Regions from separate parts of the Homo sapiens genome. Here region 2 is linked to region 1. The links are contacts of gene promoters, found by promoter capture Hi-C in blood cells and fetal thymus (Javierre and others, 2016). All regions are on one chromosome and are shown on one strand. The core of a region is centred on a gene start or on the middle of the fragment in contact, and the rest is flanking DNA. Distances in the headings are between cores, read along the strand shown. Region 1 holds the start of ZNF425 (zinc finger protein 425). Region 2 has its middle 3.5 kb from the start of TRC-GCA9-4.

Evidence for each region. The method cuts DNA at HindIII sites, captures the fragments that hold promoters and counts their contacts. A CHiCAGO score of 5 or more calls a contact.
Region 2: a fragment that was not itself captured here is called in contact with the fragment with the promoter of ZNF425 in region 1 in 1 of 17 cell types (total B cells); the score reaches 5.5 in total B cells.

What each region holds. Positions count from the first base shown.
Region 1 is chr7:149,125,073-149,131,765 of GRCh38, forward strand. It overlaps ZNF425 (zinc finger protein 425), which reads right to left and starts at 1,252. Exons shown (of 4, transcript NM_001001661.3): 1 at 1,124-1,252. The coding sequence starts at 1,141. It also overlaps the pseudogene RN7SL521P and a transcript of ZNF398 not described here. RefSeq lists enhancers at 1-167, 415-966, 967-1,518, 2,182-2,231 and silencers at 677-850, 1,582-2,021. The HindIII fragment of the contact is 7,753 bases long and covers 40-6,693 here.
Region 2 is chr7:149,707,835-149,714,483 of GRCh38, forward strand. No RefSeq gene overlaps it. Among named protein-coding and RNA genes, the nearest start is that of TRC-GCA9-4, 3.5 kb to the left of the region's middle. RefSeq lists a silencer at 5,644-5,938 and an enhancer at 6,270-6,649. The HindIII fragment of the contact is 1,268 bases long and covers 4,152-5,419 here.

The DNA of each region.
Region 1 (6,693 bases), core at 2-2,501:
AAGAGGAGAGAAAAAAAGAAAGCCTGGCTGTAGAAACAAAGCTTGGAGAAATCAGAAAAGAATCTGTACCTGCCAAAGGAGGGTGGGGAAAAGGAGTGGGAAGCAAAAGGGAAGAATCAAATGCAAATAAGGAGCATTACATTCCTAAGATTATAAAATTTCATTGGGGGCACAAGAAAAACTTGCACACTTAAGCAAGTTATACTTAACTGAATGTAACAGGGTTTCTTGGATTAAGCCTCAGGATACGCCTTTCAAACTCTAAAACCGGTGCTCAAATTTTCAATACTACATTACAATACTACAGCATTTACGGTAAATTCGATTTACGCTAACCACCCAATTCATTTTAAGTTTTCTGTCCTTTCCTAGAGGGAGCGGTCTCCAATTTCTCTCAGTTCCAGCTTTCCTTCTCCTTTTTCTCATCTGCTTAACACTGATGTGCTTCTCTGAAACTACCTTCAGCAGGAGAGCACGGGCCCCAGAGAGACCCCGAGGTTCAGAGCCCCGACACTGAAGGCAGGGACAGCGTTGTTGATCTGAGCCTACAACAGGCCGAGAAACAGATCTTTCCCACCCGGATTCTTTCTCCCAAACCAACTTTTATTTATGTATTAAACAGACGGGGTCTGGCTGTTGCCCAGGCTGGAGGGCAGTGGCTATTCACAGGCGCGATCCCACTAACGATCAGCACTGGGGTTTTGCCCTGCTCGGTTTCCGAGCTGGGCCGGTTCCCCCTCCCTGGGGAACCTGGTGGTCCCCGCTCCCGAGAGGTCACCACACAGATGCAGAACTCAGAGGCACCGCGCGACGGACCTAGCGCATATACAGCGCAGAGCTCCCGGGCTCAAGCGCTGCTCCCGCCTCAGCCTTCCGAGTGGCCGGGGCCACAGACGCGCGCGGCCAAGCCCGGCCAGACCAGCTTTTCCCCAGGTCAATTCCAGAACAGCACACGCAGCAAGACTGCACCTTCTCCAGCCCAGCCCGGAGCTCAGTCCGTGGGCCACTGCCAACCCCCAGGCCCAGGCCCCGGCCGCCCCACTCCCTGGACGCGGACCCCAATCCAGCTGCGACAGGGACCCGAGTTTCGACAGAGCCTGCATCCTCCACCGGCCCTTCTTACCGAAGCCGGCTCGGCCATGGCGGTTCCGCACGAACCGGCCCTGCCTGGCACGGCCTCCCCTCCGCTCCGCCCCAACCCAACTCCCAGGTACAGCCCTGCTGGCCCCCAAAGGCAGAGCCGGCCGGGCGCGGTGCATGCTGGGACTCGGCGCTCGGAAGCGGAAGCCGCTCCGCCCCATAGCGCCCCCTGCGGGCGGGAGGAGCGGCGCCGCCAGAGGGAGTCGGTCCTCAGAGGAGGGGCCCGGGCACCCTCCGTGCGGGCCGCAGCACGCCGGTCTTTGAGGGACCCTTGGACTCCCGGATCTGCATGCGAGGGATGCGGTCGAAGACGAGATGAGGGAGCTGACGGGAGGGGAAACGGAGGGGCAGGTGAACATGGAGAGAGCAGGAACAGGGAGAGAGTAGGGACAGCGACTGGGAGACGCGCTCCACAGAAACCCGGACTGAGAGGCAGCGAGAGGGTGAGAGTCCGGTGCTGTTCCTTCCAAAGCTGCCCCCAAGTCAGGGATGAGCTCGAGGGTTTCGTTTGTGAGGGGGTCCCGGGAATCCAGCGAGGCCGGGTAGGTGGTGGGGGGCGCGCGGTGGCCCGGGGTGTCCGTCCCGCCGGGGGCGCGGAGGCCGTGTGGGCCCCGGGCATGTCCCGTCGGGGACGCGGAGGAGGGGTCCGCCCACCACGTCCGGTCCCCGTGGGTGCAGCGCCCTTCTGGGCTCCCCGAGCGTCCACACTCCCTCCTTGGCAGAGAAAGGCCTCGGGCAGAGACCCCATGCGGAAGCCACCCCGGCCTCGGGGCCGCCTGCGGGGACTCAGGGTCGCCCAGGGATGCGGGCCGGGCACCCCTAGCCCCCGGCGGGAGACTGTGACAGAGCGGGAGAAGACGGAGGAGGCCATGACACAGGGCGTGAGAAACACGAAGACGCAAAAACGGGAGAGGTGGGAAGACGCAGAAGGGGAAACCAGGGAGAGACAGAAAGGAGAGAGAGGGCAAGGAAGGGGGTGGCGACTGTCCCCAGAAAATCAACCTCGCATTCTGTCCTAGTCATGTTTTAGGTGTCAGGCTAAAGTAACAAATGAAAAGTGTGTAGTTAGAAAGGATGTCCATGAGAAAGTAGTCCCTGCATAGGCTGAGGAGCGTGTGCACATCTGTATTTGTCCCGGAATCGTGAAATGTAGATGCACCTTACTGATTAAAGGGTTAAAAAAAAAAAACCTTACATTAAAACTAACGTTTCGGATGGGCGCGGTGCCTCACGCCTGTAATCCCAGCACTTTGGGAGGCGGAGGCGGGCGGATCACGAGGTCAGGAGAGCGAGACCATCCTGGCTAACGGCGAAACCCCGTCTCTACTAAAAATACAAAAAAAAAAAAAAAAAAAATAGCCGAGCGTTGTGGCGGGCGCCTGTAGTCCCAGCTCCTAGGGAGGCTGAGTCGGGAGAGTGGCGTGAACCCGGGAGGCGGAGCTTGCAGTGAGCCGAGATCGCGCCACTGCACTCCAGCCTGGGCGACAGAGGGAGACTCCATCTCAAAAAAACCAAAAACAAACAAACAAAAAAACTAACGTTTCTTTGGGTGTAAAGTTCTATGAATTTTCACATATGTATGTATACGTGTAGTAACCACTGTAACCAGGATACGGAAGAGCCCTGTCCCACCCTGAAACTCCTTGTGCTGCCATTCTCTTCTGTGCTTCATTTGCTTTATGGTCACTCCCTCCGACACCTGGATCCTTGGCAAGGACTGATCTGCTCTTGAAACCTAGTTTTCTCTTTTTAGAAATGGTATATAAATGGAATCATACAGTATGATATAACCTTTTGTGACTGGCTCCTCAAAAGCGTAATGCTTTTGTGATTCATCCATGTTTACGAAGAGTCAAACTGTAAAATATTTAGAAGTTTATTCTGAGCCAAATATGAGTGAGGAAGGCCAAGGTACTGTCTGAAGAGGTCCTAAGAACATGTATCCAAGGTGGTTGGGTTACAGCTTGATTTTACACGTTTTGGGAAGACTTAAGACATCAGTCAATACATGTAAAGTGTACACTGGTTCTGTCAGGAAAGGCGGGACAACTCCAAGCGGTGCTTACAGGTCACAGGCGGATTCAGCGATTTTCTGATTGGCAATTGGCTATCTGAAGACCAGGTTCATAGAAAGGAGTGTCTGGGTTAAGATAAGGGGTTGTGGAGACCAAGATTCTTAGGATGTCTCATAGTGACTGTCTTTAGATGGCAAAAATTTCCTATTTAAACCTTTAAAAGGTGCTAGATTCTCTGGCCGGGCGCAGTAGCTCACGTCTGTAATCCCAGCACTTTGGGAGGCTGAGGCAGTAGGATTGCCTGAGCACAGGAGTTGAAGACCAGCCTGGGCAACATGGCGAAACCCCATCTCTACAGAAAATACAAGATTTTGTCAGCACAGTGGCAAAGACGTTAATCTCAGCTATTTGGGAGGCAGAGGTGGGAGGATTACTTGAGCCTGGGAGGCGAAGGTTGCAGTGAGCACAGATTGTGCTGACACTACAGCCTGGGTGAGAGAGGAAGACAGAGGGAGACTCTGTCTCAAAAAAATAAAATAAAATAAAATAAAATTATATATATATATATATTGTTTGTTTGTTGGGTTTTTTCCAGACGTAGTCTTGCTCTGTTGCCTAGGCTGGAGTAGAGTGGTGTGATCTTGGCTCACTGCAACCTCCGCCTCCCAGGTTCAAGCGATTCTCCTGCCTCAGCCTCCCAAGTAGTTGGGATTACAGGTATGTGCCACCACATTGGGCTAATTTTTGTATTCTTAGTAGAGATGGGGTTTCACCATGTTGGCCAGGCTAGTCTTCAACTCTTGACCTCGTGATCCACCTACCTCGGCCTCCCAAAGTGCTGGGATTACAGGCATGAGCCACTGTGCCTGGCCCTATATTTTCATATAAATATATAATATATACTGCAAAGAAGCATATTTGGGGATAAAATATTTTGATTTCCTTCTTTGTCATGCAATGTTATGCCAGAGTCAGGTTGGAAACTAAGCGGTTATATAGGGTTAAATAAAACCCTTCTGGTGAGATTTTTATAGTTTGTAGGGCATGATTTCCTATGTCCCTTAGTTAGAAATTTGGACAAGAAAGGAAAAAAGGTCACAATTTAGTTGGTATCCATATCATTGTGTGTGAAAACAGTTTATTTTATTTATTTTTTATTGTTATTTTTTTGAGACGGAGTCTTGCTCTGTTGCCCAGGCTAGAGTGCAGTGGCTCGATCTTGGCTCACTGCAACCTCCACCTCCCAGGTTCAAATGATTCTCCTGTTTCAGCCTCCCGAGTAGCTGGGACTACAGGTGCATCCCACCACACCCAGGTAATTTTTATATTTCTAGTAGACACAGGGTTTCACCATATTGGTCAGGCTGTTCTCCAACTCCTGACCTCAGGTGATCCACCCACCTCGGCCTCCCAAAGCGCTGGGATTACAGGCATGAGCCACTGCGCCTGGCCTACAACAGTTTTATTTTAATTGCTGATAGTATTCCATGTTATGATATACTGAAGAGTATTTATCCATTGAAGGATATTTGTATTTTTTCCGTTTTATTATTTTTTATACTTATTTGTTTATTTATTTATTTATTTTTTGAGATGGAGTTTTGCTCTTGTTGCCCAGTCTGGAGTGCAATGGAGTAATCTCAGCTCACCGCAACCTCCGCCTCCCAGGTTCAAGCGATTCTCCTGCCTCAGCCTCCCTAGTAACTGGGATTACAGGCATGTGCCACCACGCCTGGCTATTTTGTATTTTTGGTAGAGACGGGGTTTCTCCATGTTGGTCAGGCTGGTCTCGAACTCCCAACCTCAGGTGATCTGCCTGCCTCAGCCTCCCAAAGTACTGAGATTACAGGCATGAGCCACTGCACCCGGCCTATTTATTTATTTTTGAGATGGAGTCTCACTCTGTTGCCCAGGCTGGAGTGCAGTGGCATGATCTCGGCTCACTGCAACCTCCACCTCTGGGGTTCAAGCGACTCCCCCACCTCAGCCTCCTGAGTAGGTGGGATTACAGGTGCACACCACCCCACCTGGCTAATTTTTGTATTTTTAGTAGAGAAGGGGTTTCACCATGTTGGCCAGGCTGGTTTCAAACTCCTAACCTCAAGTGATCCGCCTGCCTTGGCCTCCCAAAGTGCTGGGATGACAGGAATGAGCAACTGTGCCCAGCCTTTTCCAAGTTTTGGAATTCTGAATAGAGCTGCTATAAACATTTGCATACAGGTTTTTGTGTGAAAATAAATTTTTATTTCTTTAAGGTAGATACCCAGGAGTGGGACTGCTGAGTCACGGTAAATATGTATATTTAATTTTACAAGGAACTAGCAAACCATTTTTAAGAGTGACTGTACTATTATGTGTTCCCCTTGTGAACGCATGAGAGTTCAGTTGGCCCACGTTCTTTATTTGGTATTTTTAGCATTTAAAAAAACCGTTAGACATTCTAATCAATGGTGGTGTTGCTGAAACACCAGGGGTTTGGTCTAGGTGCTGCTGTTTGTGGCTCAGAAAGCCAATCATGACAACAACAAGTGTTGCCAACGAAGAAGGCTTTAATTGGGTGTTACTGCTGAGGAGATGGGAGATGGGAGATGGGAGATCAGTCTCAAATCCATCTCCCTGACAGGCTAAAATGAGCGGCTTCTATTGCTGGGAGGAAATGTAACCATATGTGGAAAAACATGAATTGGTTAGGGGTAAGGAAGAGGGTTTGGTCAACAGGAAGCAGGTGGTGGGTTAGGCAATCATGATGGGTGAGGGGTCTGACTTTCATTGTCCAAATTCAGTGATCCTGTGAGTTTCAACTGGTTAATACTATCTGGGAGGCCTGATGGTTGCTTTCCTGAGAAAGGAACTCAGATAAGACAAATGTAACTGTCTCAAGTTTTAAGACTAAAAGGATCAGTTACTGTGTTTATTCAAAGAAACCATAAACATCAGTTCTATAGGGCAATTGGGTCTGTTTCAGTGTAGGGGTATCTCAATGTAGTTTTTATTTGGATTTCCCTAGTTGCTAATGATACAAAAAATTCTTATTACGTGCTAAATTGCCAACTTCTAGTTAAGTTTTTGTTCTTGCTCCTTGTCCATTTTTCAATTGCATTTTTCTCAGGTTGATAAATATGGACTTTTTATTAAGGAAAGATTTTACTATGGGCAATTCTTTTAACATATTAGAACAGGCTGGGTGTGGTGGCTCACACCTGTAATCCCAGCAATTTGGGAGGCAGAGGCTGATGGATCACGAGATCAGGAGATTGAGACAATCCTGGCCAATACGGTGAAACCCCATCTCTACTACAAATACAGAAATTAGCTGGGTGTGGTGGCGGACGCCTGTAGTCCCAGCTACTCGGGAGGCTGAGGCAGGAGAATTGCTTAAACCTTGGAGGCGTTGGTTGCAGTGAGCCAAGATCGGGCCACTGCACTCCAGCCTGGGCAACAAGAGTGAGACTCTGCCTCAAAAACAAAACAAAACAAACAAACAAAAAACATATGCAGAACAATGTAATAAGCCCCAGCCATAATCCAGCTTTGGAAA
Region 2 (6,649 bases), core at 3,536-6,035, 590 kb after region 1:
GTGAAAAAGCCAGTAGCAACTTTAAACCCTGTCACTGTCTCAGACTGATAAATTCCTTCAACTTGGACTTTTTATTTCACTTACCAAAGGCTTTGTTCTACCTTGCCTGGTTTTGTTTCACTTTTTCTACACGTTTTCATGACCCCAAGTCAGTGAAGTGCAGGTAAATGTTTAACGACCAGCTCTGAAGGGGGTGATTTGTAGTGTTTTCCAGTTTCACAGAGTGAAAAATAATCCCACCATGGCAAATTTCAAGCTACAAATATGAGATGATGAACATGGAGTTGGGAAGGTGTGCTAACAAATGGCTGTCTGCTGCAAGCTAGCTCAAGCATAACACTGCCCCAATCCACCTTCCCGACAGAGGCCTGGGCTCTCTGGCCGTGCTCTATCTTCGCGATGCCTACTGACATGAGGGCAGTGGTTCTCACTCACCCATTCATCCATGGAATCATTCATTCATTCGTCATCTGATTCCTTCTCAATGCCAGACACAGGAAAGACAGAGATAAGCAAGAACTGTCTGTGGTAAGCAAAATAGTCCGATGAAGAAATGATCCAAACAACGACAAGGACAGCTGAACAAAAAAAAGAAGGGGCGCTATTTTTAAATGAAATGTTCTATTACCATTAACATTCTCAACTAGATAATCTAAAACGCCTCCTACCTCAAAACACCCAGAAATGAAAGACAAGATATAGTAAATATATATTCTTATATATAGCTGAGCTCTCATAACAGTAAAGGATATCTCCGGGGTGGCAGTTGGGGATGAACTAAGACCCTGAGAGGTAATATGAGCTGATCCTGGGAATGCCTGTGGTGGTTGTGGTGAGCTAGCCAAGGTGCTTCAGTTTTCACAGCCATTTGGGTACAGGAGATTTGGCCTAAGACCTGAGTCTCCCTTCTCTTGTACCAAGTCAAACTCTTAGAGAGCCATAATATTAGTAAAAGCATAGGAAAAAAAAAAAAAGCATCCACTAGCATAAGAACACAAGACATCTTTCTCTTCCTAGGGAGGCAGAGGGCATCACCCCTGAGAATCCATAACCATACATCTATCCTCACACTTGTTATGGCTTTGAATTTACACCACCTACATGGTTCAGAAATTCCTCAACCTGAAAGTTAACATACAAAGTACTCAGGCTAACAATGATTCTAGAGTATCCCCTGGTGGCTCACACCTGTAATCCCAGGACTTCGGGAGGCTGAGGTGGGTGGATCACCTGAGGTCAGAAGTTCAAGACTAGCCTGGTCAACATGGTGAAACCCCGTCTCTACTAAATATAGAAAAATTAGCCAGGTGTGGTGGCGGGCGCCTGTAATCCCAGCTACTCAGGAGGCTGAGGCAGGAGAATCGCTTGAACCCGGGAGGCGGAGGTTGCAGTGAGCCGAGATTGCGCCATTGTGCTCCAGCCCGGGCAACAAGAGTGAAACTTCGTCTCAAAAAAAAAAAAAGTACTCAGGCTGACAATGATTCTAGAGTATCCAAAAGAAGCAAACACAAACCATGAAGGACATACCCTCAAGCCAGGCTGCACAGGATTCCTACTGATAAAGCCTGGCTTAAGACGGCCTCACAATTCAAAGTAATAAAATATACAAGGAACCAGCCTATTATGAGTGAGAGCCACCAAACAAAATAAAGTCATAAAGTCAGGCCATAGAGTTACCAGATAGATACTATAAAGTAAGGATACTTAAAAATCTTTAAGACATGAGGAATTGAAAGCGTGGACACCTATGCTTTTTTTTTTTAAAGATAAAGCAGATACATCTAAAACGAAAAGTGCAGTCACTAAAATTGATCATTTAATTAACAGATTAAACACACATTAGACAAAACTAAAGAGAGATTTAGGAATGAAAGAATGTAAATCTTTTAAAAATCACTAAGAATGAAGCACAAAGGCCTAAAAAAATGAAAAATATCTAGCTAAAAGAGATGGTGCAGAATAAAGGGGTCCAACAAAGGTCAAATACAAATTCCACAAGAAGAAAGTGTAATGGGGAAGAGGCAATATTTATTTTATTATTATTTATTTATTTTTTGAGACAGAGTCTCGCTCTGTTGCCCAGGCTGGAGTGCAGTGGCGTGATCTCAGCTCACTGCAACCTCTGCTTCCTGGGTTCAAGCAACTCTCCTGCCTCAGCCTCCTGAGAAGCTGGGATTACAGGTGTGTGTCACCATGCCTGGCTAATTTTTTGTATTTCAGTAGAAGCAGGGTTTCACCATATTAGCCAGGCTGGTCTCAAACTCCTGACCTCAGATGATCTGCCCACTGTGGCCTCCCAAAGTGCTGGGATTACAGGCGGGAGACACCACACCTGGCCTAAATTTTTTTTTTTTTTAGACGGAGTCTCTGTTGCCCAGGCTGTCGTGCAGTGACACGATCTCAGCTCACTGCAAGCTCCGCCTCCTGGGTTCATGCCATTCTCCTGCCTCAGCCTCCTGAGTAGCTGGGACTACAGGCACCCACCACCACACCCAGCTAATTTTTAAAATTTTGTATTTTTAGTAGAGACGGGGTTTCACCATGTTGGCCAGGCTGGTCTCGAACTCCTCACCTCGTGATCCACTTGCCTCGGCCTCCCAAAGTGCTGGGATTCCAGGTATGAGCCACCATGCCCAGCTTGGGAAGAGGCAATATTAAAAGATATAATAGCTGAGAATTTTCCAGACTTGTACAAAGATGTGACACCTCAGATTTAGGACTCACGAGTTCCAAGAAAGATAAATAAAAGATCCATACCTAGCCACATTGCAGTGAAACTTCATGATACCACAGATAAAGAGATTTTTTTTTTTTTTTAGATGGAGTTTTGCTCTTGTTGCCCAGGCTAGAGTGCAATGGTACGATCTCTGCTCACTGCAACCTCTGCCTCCTGGATTCAAGTGATTCTCCTGCCTTAGCCTCCGAGTAGCTGGTATTACAAGCATGCACCACCATGCCTGGCTAATTTTTTTTGTATTTTTAGTAGAGTCGGGGTTTCTCCAGGTTGGTCAGGCTGGTCTCAAACTCCTGACCTCAGGTGATCCTCCCGCTTCAGCCTCCCAAAATGCTGGGATTACAGGTGTGAGCCACCATGCCCGGCCAAACAGATGATTTTAAATGAAGCCAGAGAAGTTAAATCATATGCAAAGGAATAATTAGACTGACAGCAGACTTTTCAATAGCAACAATGAAAGTCAGGAGACAATGGAATAAAATATTAGAAGTGTGAAACAGTTCTCTCCCTGGCTAAAGTATCATTCAGGAGTGAGAAAAATGTAAGACATTTTATATAACTGAAAGTATCCACTTCTAAAATATCCTTGCTGAAATAAATTTTAAAAGTTCTGCTTCAGGAAGAACATTGAACCCAGAAGGAAGAAGAAAGAGGCAAGAAAAAAGAGTGAACAAAGATAGTGGTAAGCACATTGGTAAATCTAAACAGCATAGATTGTATAAAACAAAAACAATGACTTCAAATATCAGGAGAGAGTCTTAAAAACAAGATGTAACTAAAAAGAACAATAATTACACACAAGACAGAAGGGGAAGAGTGTGATTAAACTCATATTCAAAAAGCTTTCTATCATTTGCGAGAAGATCAGAAGTAGTAATATTAGATTCTATTAAACCAAATATGTGTGTAAAATTACAGAGTAACCCCCAAATGAATAAAAAAGGAAAGCATAACTTTCAAATCAGTAGATTCATGATTATGATAGAGATTGTCAGACTGGATTCAGCAGCAACAACAAAATCTAGCTACATGCTCTTATATGACACACATCTGAAACATAAATATACACAAAGTTTGAAAGTAAAAGGACAGGAAAAGATATATCAAAGAAATACTTGCCAAAATAAAGTTAGTGTAGCTGCAGCAATATCAAACAAAATGGATTATAGACAAAGACTATTATTAGGGATAGTGTTACTTTCTAATAATAGAATGAACAATTCTCCAGGAAAATACTACAATTCTAAATTTGTAAGCACACAGCCTCCAAACACATGAAGCGAAAATTCTCACAAATTCAGGGAGAAATTGACAAATGCACAAACTTGATATGAGATTTTAACACCTCTTTAGTAACTGATAGTTCCAAATGCAAAAAGATGATAAACTATAGAAGGCATAAACCACATGATTGATAAGCTTGATTTTACAGCTCTAACTAGATCCTACACCAATATTAGAATATATGTACTCTTTTAGGCAAACATGGAACATTTTCAAACATCTATTGCACACTTGGCCACAAAGCAGTCTCAGAAAATTCTAAAAAATCAACATCACTTACTACATTCTCTGACTATAAGGCAAAACTCAAAAACAAAATAACTCATAAAAAGATTCGTATTTGGAAATTAAAAAGTACTTTTAAATAATCTCATGGATGGAAAAAGAAATAATAATGAAAATCAGAAAATATTTTAAAGTTGCAGCCATTTTCACATGGAGGACTGGCCAGCACAATTTGCCTTTAGATTCATTTGGGAAAAGTGCCGACTAGTTCACCAAAAGTCAATTCACAGAATGACCAGATAGCCAAAAGCCAAATATGGTAAAAGCTAAACCACTGAATATCAACTTGCTAAACAACCAATCTGAATTATTGAAATTTTTTTTTTTTTTTTTTGAGACAGGGTCTTGCTCTGTCACCCAGGCTGGAGTGCTGTGGTGTGATCTTGGCTCACTGCAACCCCCCTCTGCCTCCTGGGCTCAAGAGATTCTCCCACCTCAGCCTTCCAAGCAGCTGGGACTACAGGGGTACACCACTGCACCTGGCTAATTTTTGCATTTTTTGTAGAGATGGGGTTTCATCATGTTGCCTAGGCTGGTTTGGAACTCCCAGGCCCAAGCAATTCACCAGCCTTGGCCTCCCAAAGTGCTGGGATTACAGGTGTGAGCCACCGTGCCTGGCCCCAGCCAAGGAATTTTTAAAGATGTGTTTCAGCTCCACTCCTGCCTTTGTCTGTGTCCAGAGCCATCCAATAAACCTGGTTCAGGACAGGTCTTCACAACTATTTTTTAACGCACACACACGGGCTGAGGTAAATACAGGTCTACAGGGTCAAAGGCGCAACTAAAATTTGGGGGATAGGGGTGCCAGGAAGTGTCTCCATAATTTAAATAATTGGCCATGCAGCAAATTTCATGTTGGTGAACTGCTTTTAGCGACTGATGGTCCACAAATGGGGCAGGAAGCCTAGCCAGGAAGTGGACGTTTGAGTCAAAGAGGTGCCAAGAATCTGCACAGCTTAAAACAAAGGTGCATCTTACTTGGATAGAGATTTCTTTCTACAGGTGTTTAAGTTTAAGGCAGGGGTCCCCAGTCCCTGGGCTATGGACCAGTACCAGTCCTGGCCTGTTAGGAGCTGGGCAGTGCAGCAGGAGGTGAGCTGCGGGCAAGCCAGGGAAAGCTTTATCTGTAGTTACAGCCACTCCCCCTTGCTCGCATTACCCCTGAGCTCTGCCTCCTGTCAGATCTGCAGGTGCTGGATTCTCATAGGAGCCAGAACCCTGTTGTGAATGCGGGATCCAGGTTGCGGGCTCCTTAGGAGAATCTAATGCCTGGTGATCTGAGTTGGAACAGTTTCATCCCAAAACAACCCCCCTCCCAGTCCATGCAAAAATTCCCTTCCACAAAACCGGGCTCTGGCCCAAAAGGTTGGGGACCCCTGATTTAGGGGGTTTTAACGTTTAGGGATCCCGGGCCGGAGGGTGGGCGGTGGAGAGGAGCTGGGAGCAGGAACACATTACTGTAAGGAGCCCGCCTCACCTCGGCACGGAGGTGGGACCCGGCCTAAAGCCCAGGAGGCGACTTACCCTGAGGGCTGTGGCCTGTAGGGCTCTTGAAAAGTTGGACTTTTAAGTTTTCCCTTTCCGCGAGGTGGGGCCTTGTGATATCTTCAAATCCTTGTTCAGCAGGCTGCGCACACGCCGGTCCTGTGTCTAAGGTGTCTCGGGTATGACCGAGGGGGCTTTGCCCGAGTGGGCGTGCGCCTTTCCTCGGAGGCCGGGACGAGGGGTTGTCGGCATCGTACCCGAGTCCGTGATCATGGCCGGCGCGGCTGCAAGGGCCAGCCCCGGGCGACTGGGCGAGGAATTCCCTTTCCTTCCCTCCGATATTGCCCAGGCAGAGCGCTGTCTGGGCCGCAAGGTCTGGACGGGGCTTCCAAACTCAGAGCAGAGTCTCCTCTGCGTGGGACCACAGCCTCCCCTTCCCCTCCAAGCTTCTGTCTGGCACAGCAGGCTTAGCCCCGCAGGCCCCCTTCCAGCAGCCTTCTATAAAAATGACGGGGTCCTTCTCCAGACAGGAAAACCAGGCTCGCTGCGCCTCGCCCGCACCCCCGGAGCGCTCTCGCAGCGCCCGCCCAGACCAGGCCTTCGAACTCGTGAAGCGCAGGGGGAGGCAGAGGAGAGTGGGCCGCGCTTCCTTCCCGCATCACACGTTTATTTGAGGCCTACTATGTGCCAGGAACAACTGGGGTTACCACCCCAGCAAACAGGCACGCAAAATGTGACACGAAGGTAGGTCATGGCTGCGGCGAGCGGGGGCGCGGGCGAAAGACGTGAGGATGTACGGGGGCCTGGCAGCTGCTCTGTCCCACCCACGCCCGGCCGGACCCTCGACCCCTTTCACTCCAG